2 separate regions of the Homo sapiens genome follow, and region 1 is linked to region 2. Evidence: promoter capture Hi-C in 16 types of primary human blood cells and fetal thymus (Javierre and others, 2016). All regions are on one chromosome and are shown on one strand. Each heading gives the region's core, a stretch centred on a gene start or on the middle of the fragment in contact. The rest is flanking DNA. Distances are from core to core; before and after follow the strand shown. Region 1 overlaps CCDC88C (coiled-coil domain containing 88C). Region 2 holds the start of TTC7B (tetratricopeptide repeat domain 7B).

Evidence for each region. The method cuts DNA at HindIII sites, captures the fragments that hold promoters and counts their contacts. A CHiCAGO score of 5 or more calls a contact.
Region 1: a contact is called between a fragment that was not itself captured here and the fragment with the promoter of TTC7B in region 2, in 1 of 17 cell types (megakaryocytes). The highest score is 5.3, in megakaryocytes.

What each region holds. Positions count from the first base shown.
Region 1 is chr14:91,286,757-91,293,259 of GRCh38, forward strand. CCDC88C (coiled-coil domain containing 88C) reads right to left here. Exons shown (of 30, transcript NM_001080414.4): 24 at 4,239-4,328; 25 at 2,349-2,587. Among named protein-coding and RNA genes, the nearest start is that of GPR68, 45 kb to the left of the region's middle. The HindIII fragment of the contact is 3,724 bases long and covers 469-4,192 here.
Region 2 is chr14:90,813,785-90,820,790 of GRCh38, forward strand. It overlaps TTC7B (tetratricopeptide repeat domain 7B), which reads right to left and starts at 2,646. Exons shown (of 20, transcript NM_001010854.2): 1 at 2,391-2,646. The coding sequence starts at 2,511. LINC02321 (long intergenic non-protein coding RNA 2321) reads right to left here. Exons shown (of 4, transcript NR_184259.1): 4 at 6,289-6,581. RefSeq lists a silencer at 2,640-2,819. The HindIII fragment of the contact is 10,969 bases long and covers 1-7,006 here.

The DNA.
Region 1 (6,503 bases), core at 1,081-3,580, 470 kb after region 2:
AGGCAGTCCATGCAGTTAAGTGCATGCAGTTAAGAGCTCAGGCTCCGGAGTGCGGCCGACCTGCATTTGGGTCCCACTTACCCAAAGCAAATGTTTTACACTGCTGAGCCTCACTTTCTCACCTCTACACAGGGGAGGCCACGTCCACCTGCCTTGATAGGGTCGTTAGGATTCAATGAGATGCATAAAGCACATAAAGTAGTTAGAGGGTGCTGGGCCCAGAGGGAGCACCCAAGACATGGTGGCTGCTAGTGAACATGATCATGGTTTACAGACCTGCTTGCTCACGGATCACTTTGGACCAGTCAAGCATTTTTTTCTCTGAAAGTTTTCCTAACTCAGACTGATTATAGTTAATTAATTCCACTTAAAGAGTAATACAAGTTGAGATGACAAATGTCCAAAAATTAAACAGGAGCCAATATAAAAACCTGAGGCAACAGAACCCCTCTAGCTTAAAAAAAGTTAAGCTTCTCATTTACTTGCATGTGAGGCCTCTAATTTTTTTCCTTCTCACCCTGTCTTACGGTGCTGACTCTATCTAATCTTATCCCCATAAAGAATGACAGTGTGTTAGTCCCTGAACAATGTGCGTGAACATTATTTTTGTTAGAGATGGGGTGTCACTCTGTCACCCAGGCTGGAGTACAGTGGTATGACCATAGCTCGCTGCAGCCACGACCTCCTGGGCTCAAGTCGACTGAGCAGCTGAGACTACAGGTACGTGCCACCACACCTGGCTAAATAAAAATATATATATTGGTAGATGGGGGTTTCCCTGTGTTGCCCAGGCTAGTCCCAAACTCCTGGCCTCAAGTGATCCTCCTGTCTTGGCCCCTCAAAGTGCTGGGATTATAGGCATGAGCCACTGCACCAGGTCTTTTTTTTTTTTTTTTTTTTTTTTTGCATCTGAAGGGGACACAACAGGTACTTGTGAATGTGCCCCCTGAAAGGCTTGTGCACACACCACACTCAGAGGGTAGCCTGTCGCTGGTCTTCAGTGTTATATCCTCCGCCTCCAAGACCCCATGGGTCTCAGGCATAGGCTGGGTCTTCAGAAAGTCCTAGTGTCCTTTGTAAAAATTTAAATGACTTGGGATGCAGGCCTGGGATAAATAATCTCCCCAAAATGATATTTAAAGGTAAAGCTGAAAATTTAACAATGTGTAAGGTAAATGCTGTGTCTAATCGATTCTAAGACACCTTTAACGTCTTGGAAATTAGGAGGCAATTTCAGTGATGTCTCAGTCACCACTGGCCAGGTGGCCACGGTGACAAAACTGACATGGTCATAACCAACTCATCTTGGTCCTATTTTCCTTTTACGTGTGTGTACAAAAATCGAATTCTTATTTAGAAAAGCTCTTTCAACAAGAGCGTAAGAAAAATTCGAAGTGGTGGCCCTGTACCGTTTGATTGCCTCGTGGTATATAAAGTAACTGTGCAGCTTTCATGGCTCCTGAGAGTTGATGAAATACAGCATACATGATGAGAAATCCTGTTCTTGTTTCAGAACCTCTGGCAAACTCCAAAGGACAGCCCTTAGGGAAAAGGCACAGTGTGTCCTGTGGCTGGTGGGACACAAGGCCAGATCAGGCTGAAGAAGTCCTAACCCACCTTTCAAAGTGGTAACAGATAAACCACCCAAGGCTTTCGGGAGGTCTTATATACATGGAGAACGTGTTGAGTGCACCTGGGATCTCCCTGCACAAAGCAGCTTTCTACAAATCTGGCACATACGAGGCAGCCCAAAATAAGCTATGTCGCTTGTCTCTATGGTACCTGCACGAATGTCAGCTTTGGATATTGAGATATCTGCCCGGCTACATGATGAATGATACCTTTTGTTCTAAAACAACAAAAGTGGTTGGGCGTGGCAGCTCACGCCTGTAATCCAACAGTTTGGGAGGCTGAGGCGGGTGGATCACTTGACGTTAGGAGTTCGAGACCAGCCTGGCCAACATGGTGAAACCCCGTCTCTACTAAAAATACAAAAAATTAGCCAGGCGTGGTGGTGGGCGCCTATAATCCCAGCTACGTAGGAGGCTGAGGCAGGAGAATCACTTGAACCTGGGAGGCAGCCAGGCTGCACTCTAGCCTGGGCAACAAGAGTGAAACTCCATCTCAAAAAAATTAAAATAAAATATAAAATAAAGTAACAAAAGCATTATGGGACAAAACGGTCGCCACGCTGAATTTCTACTTGGCTCGTAACACATCTAAGCGAAGGCGCACATGCAGTCACCCACCCCTGGCACGTTCCTGCACACGTGTGCACAGCCACCGGTGCGGGACCCTTCAGGACACCCCCTTCCTCACCCGACCACGGCCAGGACGGCCGCCCCTACCTTTCCCCACAGACCCGTTGTGGGCGTCGCGCTCTTCTGCACAGTTGGAGCCCAGTGCGGGGGTGTCGGGGTTCTCGGCCTGTGATCTGAGCGGCTGAGAGGCCGCCGGCGAGGCGGGGTCTGAGGACTCCAGCTGCCAGGGAGGGCTGTCCACGGTGGATTTTAAGCGTTCCCTCGAACCCTCTTTCTTTGGTTTGATGAGTTTGACTAAGGCTTTGGCTCCAATCCAGTGGTTCTTCCTGGTTAGAAGTAGATGTTTAGGACATAGCCAGCCCTCCCACACACCCCCAGTGGGTCCCTGGTTCCCTAACATGGGCTGGGATGTTCTTCCCCAGTCTGGGAAGCTAGGCCACTCACGTGGGGTTCAGGACAATGACGCTCATGACCATGGTAATCATATTTGGGGCTCAGGAGCTAGAACTTAATTCTCAGTTTGGCACAGGGCTGGGGATGGTAGAGCCATGTGCATTGTGACAGAAATCCACTCTAGTCTCCCAGGATGAAGGAAGTGATGCCGTGCTTAATTTAGTTGGCAATTTTTCTGTCAAAAAGCCATTTCCATGAATCTCATTTTCTGCTAAAGTTAATAATCAGTGAAATAAGCTGGCATTCCCTTGACTCCTCCCTGGCACTGAGTAATCTGGGTGAGGTGGAGAGGGCAGAGGAGAGCAGGCTGTTTGATTAAAAATCAGTGCATTTAAAGAGTAAGCAATAACATCACAGCGAGCTGGACACCGAGGGCATCCTGGTGTGACATGAAGAGAACCCTGCCTGTGCTCTCACCCCGTCTCTGAAACGAAACAGCATCTATTTATATTATCACTCCAGTTTCTCATCTTGGCTTCAATTTCTGTGTCAAACAGAAGATTCAGACTGAGGTTCTGGGCCAGGCATGGTGGCTCACGCCTGTAACCCCAGCACTTTGGGAGGCCGAGGTGGGTGGATCAACTTGAGGTCAGGAGTTCGAGACCAGCCTGGCCAACATGGTGAAACCCCATCTCTACTAAAAATACAAAAATTAGCTGGGCGTGGTGGCACATGCCTGTAATCCCAGCTACTCGGGAGGGTGAGGCAGGAGGATGGCTTCAACCTGGGAAGCGGAGGTTGCAGTGAGCTGAGACTGTGCCATTGCACTCCAACCTGGATGTCACAGCGAGACTCCGTCTCAAAACAAAACAAAACAAAACAAAACAATAAGCACACACACAAAAACCAAAAACAGACTGAGGTTCGGAAATTCTGTGGTTCTGGATTCCCAGAGAGACCTCAAGGGATTTGCAGTGATTTTGACTTCAAGGCTGGGCCAGGACAATCCGAAGGGACAATTCCTGGGGCTCAGGCCGTGGACAAGGGGCAGCACTGCTAGGGTGGGCCAGCCCCACTTGGGGAGAGCTGCTGCTCTCTGGGGAAGAGACATGTCCATGAAGCCACCCTGAGGTTCTGTGAATCCAGAAAAATCTGCATAAGGTCAAAAGGTTCCCACATTTGAAGACCATGGGGGCTGGGCCAAGTGTGCTGCCCAAGCATCCTCTCCAAAATAGGAACATGGGTGTCCAGGTCATGTTTAATCCTGAGACGAAAACCTGACAAGGCAGCCCCGCCATCCTGCTTGAGTGACTCCAGGACCACGGATGCTCTGCCCCCTTAAAAAAGGCTCATAGCTAAATGAAGCCTGTGTCTCATTGGGGTCACCAGACATTGGCCACCCCTCACAGGACAAGCTAGAGTACAGAGGCAGGCTGGAAGGATTCTGAACTCTCTCTGATGTGGGAGGCATCTGTGCACAGGTGGATGGTGCGGGGCCTGCCCTAGATGGCTGCTTTCACCCTGTGCACAGAAAAGGAAGCTTTTAAGTTCTGTCTTTATGCCACTACACTTAAATCAACTCACTTCTTTGGAGGAGGATCATAGAACTTGTATTGATCCATGATTTTTTCTTCCAGCTTTTCCTTATGTCTTCGTAAGGCATTTAATTTGTCTCTGTGAATATAGGAGAAAGAAAACCTATCAATCCAGTTTTAAATCAAACAAGTGAATTTACTCATCGGCCCAGCCTGGAACCTGGTGTACCCGGGGCTGGTATTTTTCCAGGATTGAGATGAGGGTGCTCACCACCGTCATGGTCACTGAGTTTGGAATACGGGAATGGTGGCATGCGCCGTGGGTTCAGGGAGCTCTATGACCCTGAGATTTACTGAAGCCCCTGGGACCCAGCTGTGAGCGAGCTCAAGGCAGCAAACTTCTAACAATCTGAAAACTCACGCTCGGAAGACCCAAGGATTCTCCTTCCAGGTTGTTCAAGACGTGAGATGCTCCTGGGGTCAGGCAGAACCTACCCCGCAGTGGTGACGGGGCGGGGTTCAGGGGGTACATATTAACAACACCTGGGCAGTGAGGTTGAAAAAGTCAGCTCAGCAAAGTCAGATGCATGACTCAGGCCCATTCCCACTCAGAAGCAAACTGAGAAGCTTTCAGGGGCCAGAAAGAGAAGTTAATGAGCACAGCAGGGCTGGAGAAACCAGGGGCGCTAGTGGGGACTGCAGTGAGCCCCTGTGCTGCCATCTCCGGCAGACCCTGCTGCCACAGGGGAATGAACCAGGGCACAGTGGGGCGGACTTCCCGAGATACCAGATGCCCAGATGATGAAGCCAAATCTCCCGATTCCTAAATATTGGAAATTGAGCCACTTTTCAAAAACTCTGCCAGGGACCAAAGAGATATCTCTTGAATCTTGGGCGGGCTCAGGCACCTCTGCTTACCGGGGAGACCTTGGCCTTCCTCATACAAACAGAAAGCTTCTGTTTGCACTTAGGGAGTCACGGGGCTGCGCCCACAGTGCATTCGGAGCCGCGCTGCCCATGGTACTGAGGACTGCTGCCCACTCATGCCTCAGCGCTGGGTGGTCTTGAGAGCCCAGACCCTTGGTTTCCTCGTCTGAAAACGAGGCCTTACATGAGAGGTAACAGCTCATTCTCGAAGCTGCCAAGGTCCTGCCCCAACTGAGGGCTTTCCCAAGAGCTCACGGTGAGGTGAGCCCCTGTAACAAGTGACCCCAGCCACGCTCCGCTCCCAGTCCCTTGACTCGACATCCGTGTGCTGGTGTTCTGTGCTCACGGCCGTGCTGCTGAGCCTTAAGCCTTGAGTGCTTCATGGCTGGGGTTGGCCCCACAGACTCACACGAACTCCAGGGCCCGGAGCAGGCCCCAGGAAGCCTGCCAACCCACTGGCCTGGAGTAGACACTGTCTAATGCAAAAACGTCATCAAATAATCCCCCTGAGTGCTCCTATACTTCTTCCAGTTAGCACCTGCCCAACCTCTGCTGGCGATATTTTATCACCGGGATTATAGAGGGCCAACTTCAGGGTCATTTCCACCCCACAATTACAGTGTGCTTTTACATACAAACCATCCTCCCGAAGGTGGCACGCCAGCCCTAGACACGTAGGTGAAGCCGACAGAATAACAAAGGAGCATCGTTACATCAGAGAGTTGGGATAGCACACCAGTGTTCACTGTGACCACAGTGACCACGTCCCACCACAAGCACGTCCCTTCTTGCCTTCCCCACACTGATGCCAGCACACCAATGCCTGCCCGGACGCCAATACCAGCCATTCCCGATCACGTGGAAGGACAGCCCAACCACCATGGCTAGGATCCAGAAACCACTCTAGATTCTCGATTCCTCGACTTCTGAACCACGAGATTCCTGGCACCAGGGTTCGTCCCCTTGCCTTCTATTTCTGGAAGCTTCCCTGGCCCTGCCAGAGTAGTATCCCTTCCAAAACAACTCCAGGAATCCAACATCTTTAGCTGGACATGGAAGCTACCACAGCTGAGCGCCCACCTCCTTTTCCAGCCTTCTCTCTGGGTGCCTCCTGCACATTCCCCGCACTTAGACCACCTGCCACAGCTCACCTTCCCGTCCTCACCTGCCACGGCTGACCTTCCTGTCCCCTCACCTGCCACAGCCCACCTTCCTGTCCTCACCTGCCACGGCCCACCTTCCCGTCCTCACTTGCCACAGCCCACCTTCCCATCCTCACCTGCCATAGCCCACCTTCCCATCCTCACCTGCCACAGCTCACCTTCCTGTCCCCTCACCTGCCACGGCCCACCTTCCTGCCCCCTCACCTGCCATGGCCCACCTTCCC
Region 2 (7,006 bases), core at 1,396-3,895:
TTTGCAAAATCTGCCCAGAACTTGTGCTCATGCACCCGAGAATCTATGGGGGAGCCGGTGCCCCCAAAAGCCAGGAAGAAGTCCCTCTACCAGCCCGAGAGTGGGAAGGCCTCACCAGTCAAACGGAGGGAAGGCCCCTCTTGCAAACACCAAAGGAGAGCCACAATCATTCTAGTTTAGTTTCATCTTTTTCTTGGCTTCATCGTTTTATTTTCCTGAGCACTCACTCTGTCTGATCTTTTCAAGTCCGGGTAACTTTTTGCCATCAATGGCTACCACTCACCATGTGAGTCTCTAGGACAAAAATCTATGTCCCATGAGTTTCCCCAAACTGAACTTGCACACAGACCCATGGACCACAGTGCCCCCGCAAACCCCGATCCCCAAGCCCCACTCATGACTGCATCTTAGGACATTGGGAGCAGCCCCTGGGAAGAGAGCTAAGCCTTTCGGGGGCCATGAAGGTGAATAGGAAGGGCCCAGGCCACCAAAAACCCATCTACCCTCTCATTCCAGGGACCATCATAGCTTGAGTCCCCCTTCATCTGCCTGTCATTCTCAATCACATTAACTCATCTGTTTTGTTTCAATCACTTCTCACTATCTGAAGCTGTGCTGTTTATTTATTTCCATATTTGCTTATCACCTGCCTCCTGAGAGCAGGGTGAGGGCATAAGGGCAGGGGCTTGGTCAGTGCTGTTCACCACTGTTCTGTGACTGGCACAGGTGGGCACGCAAATATTGGGTGAATGAATAAGCAAAGACAGCAGGAAACAAGTGGATTCAGAAGAAAAAAGACCAGGAGGCTCACAAATAAACCCATTTAATCCTAAAATCAACCTGCACAGAAGGTGTCATTATGCCTACACCGCTGGGAAGCCACAAAGTAGACCCAGGACTGTGCAACTCCGAGAGGAAAAGAGAAAATGCTGCAGGTAAGCGGAGAAGCAGGTGAGCCCGACACGGAGGGCAAAGGCAAGCTGCCTCTGGGGCCCAGGGCACTGAACACCATCTCCTCAAAGGCTGACATAACTGAGAAGGGTCCACATTTTCCACCAAGTGGAGCCCGTGTAGGGTCGGTGCTATCTCCATGCCCCTGACACACCATGGCACCTGCGTTCACCCAGAAGGTACCTGCCCACAGCATGCATCCATCATTGAGAGTGCGCAAAACCAAGTTCTAATTTCCAGGCACTAATACCATAGGACACAAACATAAACCACCCTCCAGGAGGACACCTGACATCCCTCTCCTTTCTGGGTAGTCTGAAGTGAGAAGGTTGAAAATAGTGCAGATGTCCTTTCTTAGAGCAGCCCCGCCATCCATTCATTCACTCTTTCATTCATTTGTTCAGCCAACATGTGCTCACTGGGCCTGGGGAAGCCCAGGATGAAATGAGACAAACCCTCTGCCCTCTGGCCACGGTGTGCTGGTGCCTGCGCTTTAGGCGGGTACTAAAAGACAAGCAAATATTAAAGATACTCGCTTCCAAAACAAATAAGGCCACGTGGAGCTGTGCACTGGAATGGGATTCTGGATGCAATTTTATTTGATTGGGTACAAGAACCAATCCAGTTAAAGGGGTCATGAACCAACTCCAGGCACCAGGCTCCTACTCAGAGGCTGCCTCAGACCCCCTTCTGGCCCAGGCACCAACCCCTCACCCACCCAACTCCATCTCCCGACATTCTTCAACCACATTCCCATCTCGCTCCACAATATTCTCCCTCCAGGTCCCCCTGACTCTATTTCTCCTCTATTCCCAACCCTGACCTCTCTAGGTCGGCAGCCTTGATGCTACTTCTCCGAACGCCAGGACGCACATCCCAGCCTGCTTTCTACCACCACCCCACACACCTCGAGTCTGCGCTTCCACCCAGAACCCCTTAAACACCATATGTTTACAAACCAGATTCCCCAGGGGTCTATGTACAACACCCCATTCTCAAGACCCCATAAACACATCCTGATTCCCTGAGCACACCATACACACACTGTGGACTTCACCCATGTCCTGAGGGACCCCCTCACCCCATCACCTCCAACTTCTTGGAAGCCCCAGGCCGGCCCCTGACCTCCTGTGGTCCCAGTGGAGCAGCGGACTCGCTGAGACCCCCGGACACCCCAGACTCCGCAGAAGCCCGCCCTGCACGCTTGAACCCCAGGCGCCGGGACAGCCCCTGGCGCCCCCCCGGGCCCCCACACCGCGTGACTCCGGGGCACCCGGGCTCCCCCAGGCCCCGGTCCCGCGCACATCCCCTGGGCCGCAGCTCCCTCGCGGCCCGGCCGCGCCCCTGCCCGCGCCCCGCGCCCGGCCGCGCCTCGGGGGCCCGTTCCCGCGGAGGCCGCGGCGCCCCCCGCAGCCCAGGCCGGCGCGCCCGGAGCGTACCGTTGGCGATGAGCTTGGCCGACAGCTGCTTGACGAGCTCAGGGATCCGCTCCCACTGGCACTCGGAGCGGCAGCGCTCGATCTCCGTCTCCAGCCGCGAGCCTGCCTTCTTGGTCGCCATCGCGGCCTGGCCGGGCCCGGCCGCCCGCCCCGCAGGCCCCACCGCCGCCGCCGCGGCGCCCCCTCGCCGCCTCCCGCCGCCGCCGCGGGCTCGGGCTCCGGCTCCCGGCTCCGCGGCGTAACGGGAGCGCCGGCTGGGGAAGGGGCGGGGAGGCGGGCGGCGGCGGCGGGCGCGGCGGGGCCCCGGGCGCCGCGAGGAGCGGCCCCTGCCGGCCAGGGCCGGAGCCGCAGCACTGACCGGGGCCGGAGCCAGGGCTGGGGCAGGGGCGGGGGCTAGGGCGGGAGACAGGGGCCCGAGGGAGGAAAGGCGGGGTGGGCATGGAGGACAGGGAGAGGGACTGGGGGTGTCTGGGGCGGGGTGAAGACCGAGGGGAAGTGGGGATGGGGGTGGGGGAGCGGGGTAGGAGAGAGATCTGACCAAGGGCGGGTGAGGGGTCTGGTGGGGTAGGGGTCTGGGCAGGATGAAGGGGAGGGAGAGGATCGGGAGGGAGCTAGCGACAGCCTGGGAGCGGGTTGGATCCCCAGGAGTAGGGCCAAGAAAGGGCAGTGACCCTGGGGAAGGTCACCGCCCGGTGGGACCAGTGAGCCAGGTGTGAGGGGTGGGGGGAGGCCTGCCCGAGTTTGTCCTGCCATCTCAGGTGGCCAGCGGTTCCCTGGGGCCCGGTTGGCCTGTGCCCCTTAGCAGATGCCCCTCTGCCCCGCAGCCTTAGCCCCTACCCAGCCAGAGGTGGACGGAGACTCCTCCATCCCAGGCAAGGCACAGCACCTGCCAGGGGTGCCCTAGATGGCTGAGCGGAGCCAGGCAGGGGCTGCCACTCTCACACGCCAGCTCTCGGACCCCCTGAGGGGAAGGCACAGTCACTGGTGGGGCCTCCTGTCTTGGCCACCTAGACTGAGACCTAGGGAGGTGTCCCTCTGTGTTCTCTCAGTGAATCAACTGTCTAGTGATCACCTACTATGTGCTGGGCGCTGCTTTAGGTGCCAGAGATAGAATTGTGAGCTAAAAAAACAAAATTCCTGGCTTGAGAGAGCTTACATTCCAGTTTGGGGGAAAAATAAGCAAAATAAAATAGTAAACTAGACTGTAAAAATGGCTATTTGAAGAAACAGGGAAGGGTTCAGTGAGGAACATAAAGAGTTGGGACAGGCGGGTGGCTCATGCCTGTAATCCCAGCTACTCAGGAGGCTGAGGCAGGATGATTGCTTGAGCCCAGAAGGTGGAGGCTGCAGTGAGCAGTGAACGCACTTCAGCCTGAGCAAGTGTTGCCATTTAAAATGGAGCAGTCAGGGATGGCCTCACGGAGGTGGCATTAGACTTGAAGAAACTAAGGGGGAGCCATGAGGATATCTCTGGGGGAGGAGTATCCCAGGCAGAGAACACCACAAGTGCGAAGGCTCTGGGGTTAGAGCACACTGGGTGGGATGGAGAAATGGCAGAGGCCAGAGGGGCTGGGTGGAGCGAAGGAGAGGGGCCGAGGCAGGAGATGAACTCTGAGAGGTTGGGGGGAGTTCTGTGTAGTGCCTGGTGGGCCATTATAAGACCTTGGCTTTTGGCTGGGCACGGTGGCTCACGCCTGTAATCCCAGCACTTTGGGAGGCCGAGGTGGGCGGATCACGAGGTCAGAAGATCGAGACCGTCCTAGCTAACATGGTGAAACCCGTCTCTACTAAAAATATTTTTAAAAATTAGCCGGGCGTGGTGGCAGGCGCCTGTAGTCCCAGCTGCTGGGGAGGCTGAGGCAGGAGAATGGTGTGAACCCGGGAGGCGGAGTTTGCAGTGAGCTGAGATGGCAGCACTGCACTCCAGCCTGGGCAACAGAGAGAGACTCCGTCTCAAAAAAAAAAAAAAAAACTTTGACTTTTACTCTGGTGACATGGAGCAGCCCTGCAGGGCTTTTCACGGAAGAGTGGCATGATCAGACCTACACTTTGGACTATCACTGTGACTGCAGTGTTGAGAATACTGCCAGGGAAATAGCTGTGGTGGTGGCAGTGTTGGATTCTGGGTCCTGCATTTGAGAGTGAAGCGGTCAGTCTGGAAGGTTCCGTAGCCCGCCCGCAGTCACAAGGAGGCACTGAGGGGTCGTCGTCATTCCTTCTGGGTGCCCTTACTCCAACTTTCCAAGAGCAGTCACACGCAGGTTCTTATCCCCACCACAACTCCCCCACCACCGGAGTTGATGAAGAACACACACTGTGGACCTCAGTTTACCAATGAGGAGGCTGAATCACAGACATTTAAGAGAGGTGAGGAGGAAAGATAAGGAGATGTGTTCTGATGTGACCAGTATCACTTTCAGGTGCCTCAGGGACTGCCAAGGTGATGGAAGTTGAGCTGACAGGCCCTGGACACTGTGAACAGCCCAGGGAAAGGGGAACTAGAACGTTAGAGTTTCAACAGGGGACCCTTTAGTGCCCTGGCCCTTAGCTCCCACCAAGAGGGAGCAGGAAGGGAAGGAGAAGAAATCTCCACAGGAGATGTTTCCTCTCTCCTGACACCCTCCTGTTCTCCCAACTCCAGTCTGCCTCTCCAGATTTGCTGGGAATGTTCTCCATCTGGACCAGGAGACAGATTCCTGTGCCTTCTTTCAGACACGGGCCAAAGGTTACTGGGCAGCCTTGCTCAACATCTGACAGACCTTGTGTGACAGCACTTGCCATCTCCCTCTGGGAAGGGGCAGGGTCTTAATCATGACTAACGCATACACTGCCTCAGTTGCCACACTGGAAGGTAAATGATGAGGGCCACCTGTCTGCCTCCCTACCTGATAAGGTGGCTTCATGAGGACGGATGCTGCCTGGGCCATGGCATTTAACATCCCCAGGCCTCCATTTCTTGGCTGTGATACCTCCCCCTGGAGCTCGTTGAGGAGGAAATGAGGAAATACAGGTAGGGCACAGAGAACAGTGCCAGCATGCCAGGCTCTGTGGCTCACGCCTGTAATCCCAGCAGTTTGGGTGGATCACGAGGTCAGAAGATCGAGACCTTTCTGGCTAACATGGTGAAACCCTGTCTCTACTAAAAATACAAAAAAATTAGCCGGGCATGGTGGTGGGCACCTGTAGTCCCAGCTACTCGGGAGGCTGAGGCAGGAGAATCGCTTGAACCCATGAGGTAGAGGTTGCATCTCCATCATGCCACTGCACTCCAGCCTGGGTGACAGAGCAAGACTCCATCTCAAAAAAAAAAACAGTGCCAGTGCACCAATAGAGTGCCATGTCGGCTGTCATTCTGTGTCTCTCTGCCCCTTGCAAGCCGCATAGGGCCTGGAACATTGTGGGAGCTTAAATGAACGAGGCTGGAGTCCCCAAGGTCTACAGCCACCTGCGAGTGCGTTTCCTTAGGATGAAACATCCCAATGATGAATCCATGTCACTACGTTCCAGGCTTCCACCGTCACGGCAGGCCACCTACAGGGGCCCAACACCAGAATATTCTTCAGACCATGTGCTTGGGCGCAGAGGTTGCTGGGTATAGGGGTTGGGAGCAGAGGCTGACAAACATTGTCAGCCTGAAGCAGGAGAGAGAAGGAACCCTCTGGGCTTCACCGTGGGAGCCTGAGAGCTGGGCCCTGTGGCCTCTGGGCTCATTTCTGCCTCTGCTTTCCATATCCTGGCCCTCATCCATGGCCCGGGCCACTCTGGCAGCTGCCACAGCAACCCTAGAGAGGTACAAGTGATCCTATGAGGACAAAGTCCCTGGATGGTTCTCCAGGTGACTTTACCTGCAGGCAGCACTCAGCTAAATTCAAGAGTAAGAAGGCATTCGTGCTCATAATAGTAATTAAGGCAGTATCTTTTCCTCTAGGCATTCAGGTAGTACAGGTTTGACAAGGATGTGGAAAATCACAGCCTATAGGCCCAATCCCACCATGGGGCCTAGGGTGCCTGGCAGGAAAGAAGTGGAGGACAGCTGGGAAAGGAGTCTGACTTCTGGCCAATTCCTTGAGAACAGCTGGGGTACCAGGAGGAGTGGAGGCAGGCTGTAGGCTCATTCCAAAGGCCAGTGCAAATAGGGGGCTTGTGTGGTCTGGAGACCTCCCAGTCCTCATCTCCGAAAGCCTGGATTCCCTGTGCAATCAGAATAAGGGAAGAGGTGAGCAGCAAGGGAGCGGGCGTGAGAGAGAAAACAGAGAGAGAGAATGAGAGAGGGATTGTGGCCAGGGTAGGATGGAGAGAGCTTAGGGGAAGGAGACACTGGTGGGAGGAGGGGTCATAACTTTGCCCTTTCTCCTCCCTCACCTGGCCTGGAAGGTTCTTCCCCAGAAACCCATGTGGTCCCTCTCTACCTTCCTTCTGAAGGCAGTGAGGGAGGTCACATCCTCACAGAGACCTTCCCCGACCACTCTGTCCACCTTTGCTCCCCCTCATTCCCTTCACCCTTACCCCCTCACCCTGCTGTAGTTTTCTTCTTGTCCCACCTGATCTATGGTTATTAACTGAGTGTGTATTATCTGCCTCCCCTCACTAGAGCAAAAGCCCCAGGAGGGCAGGGA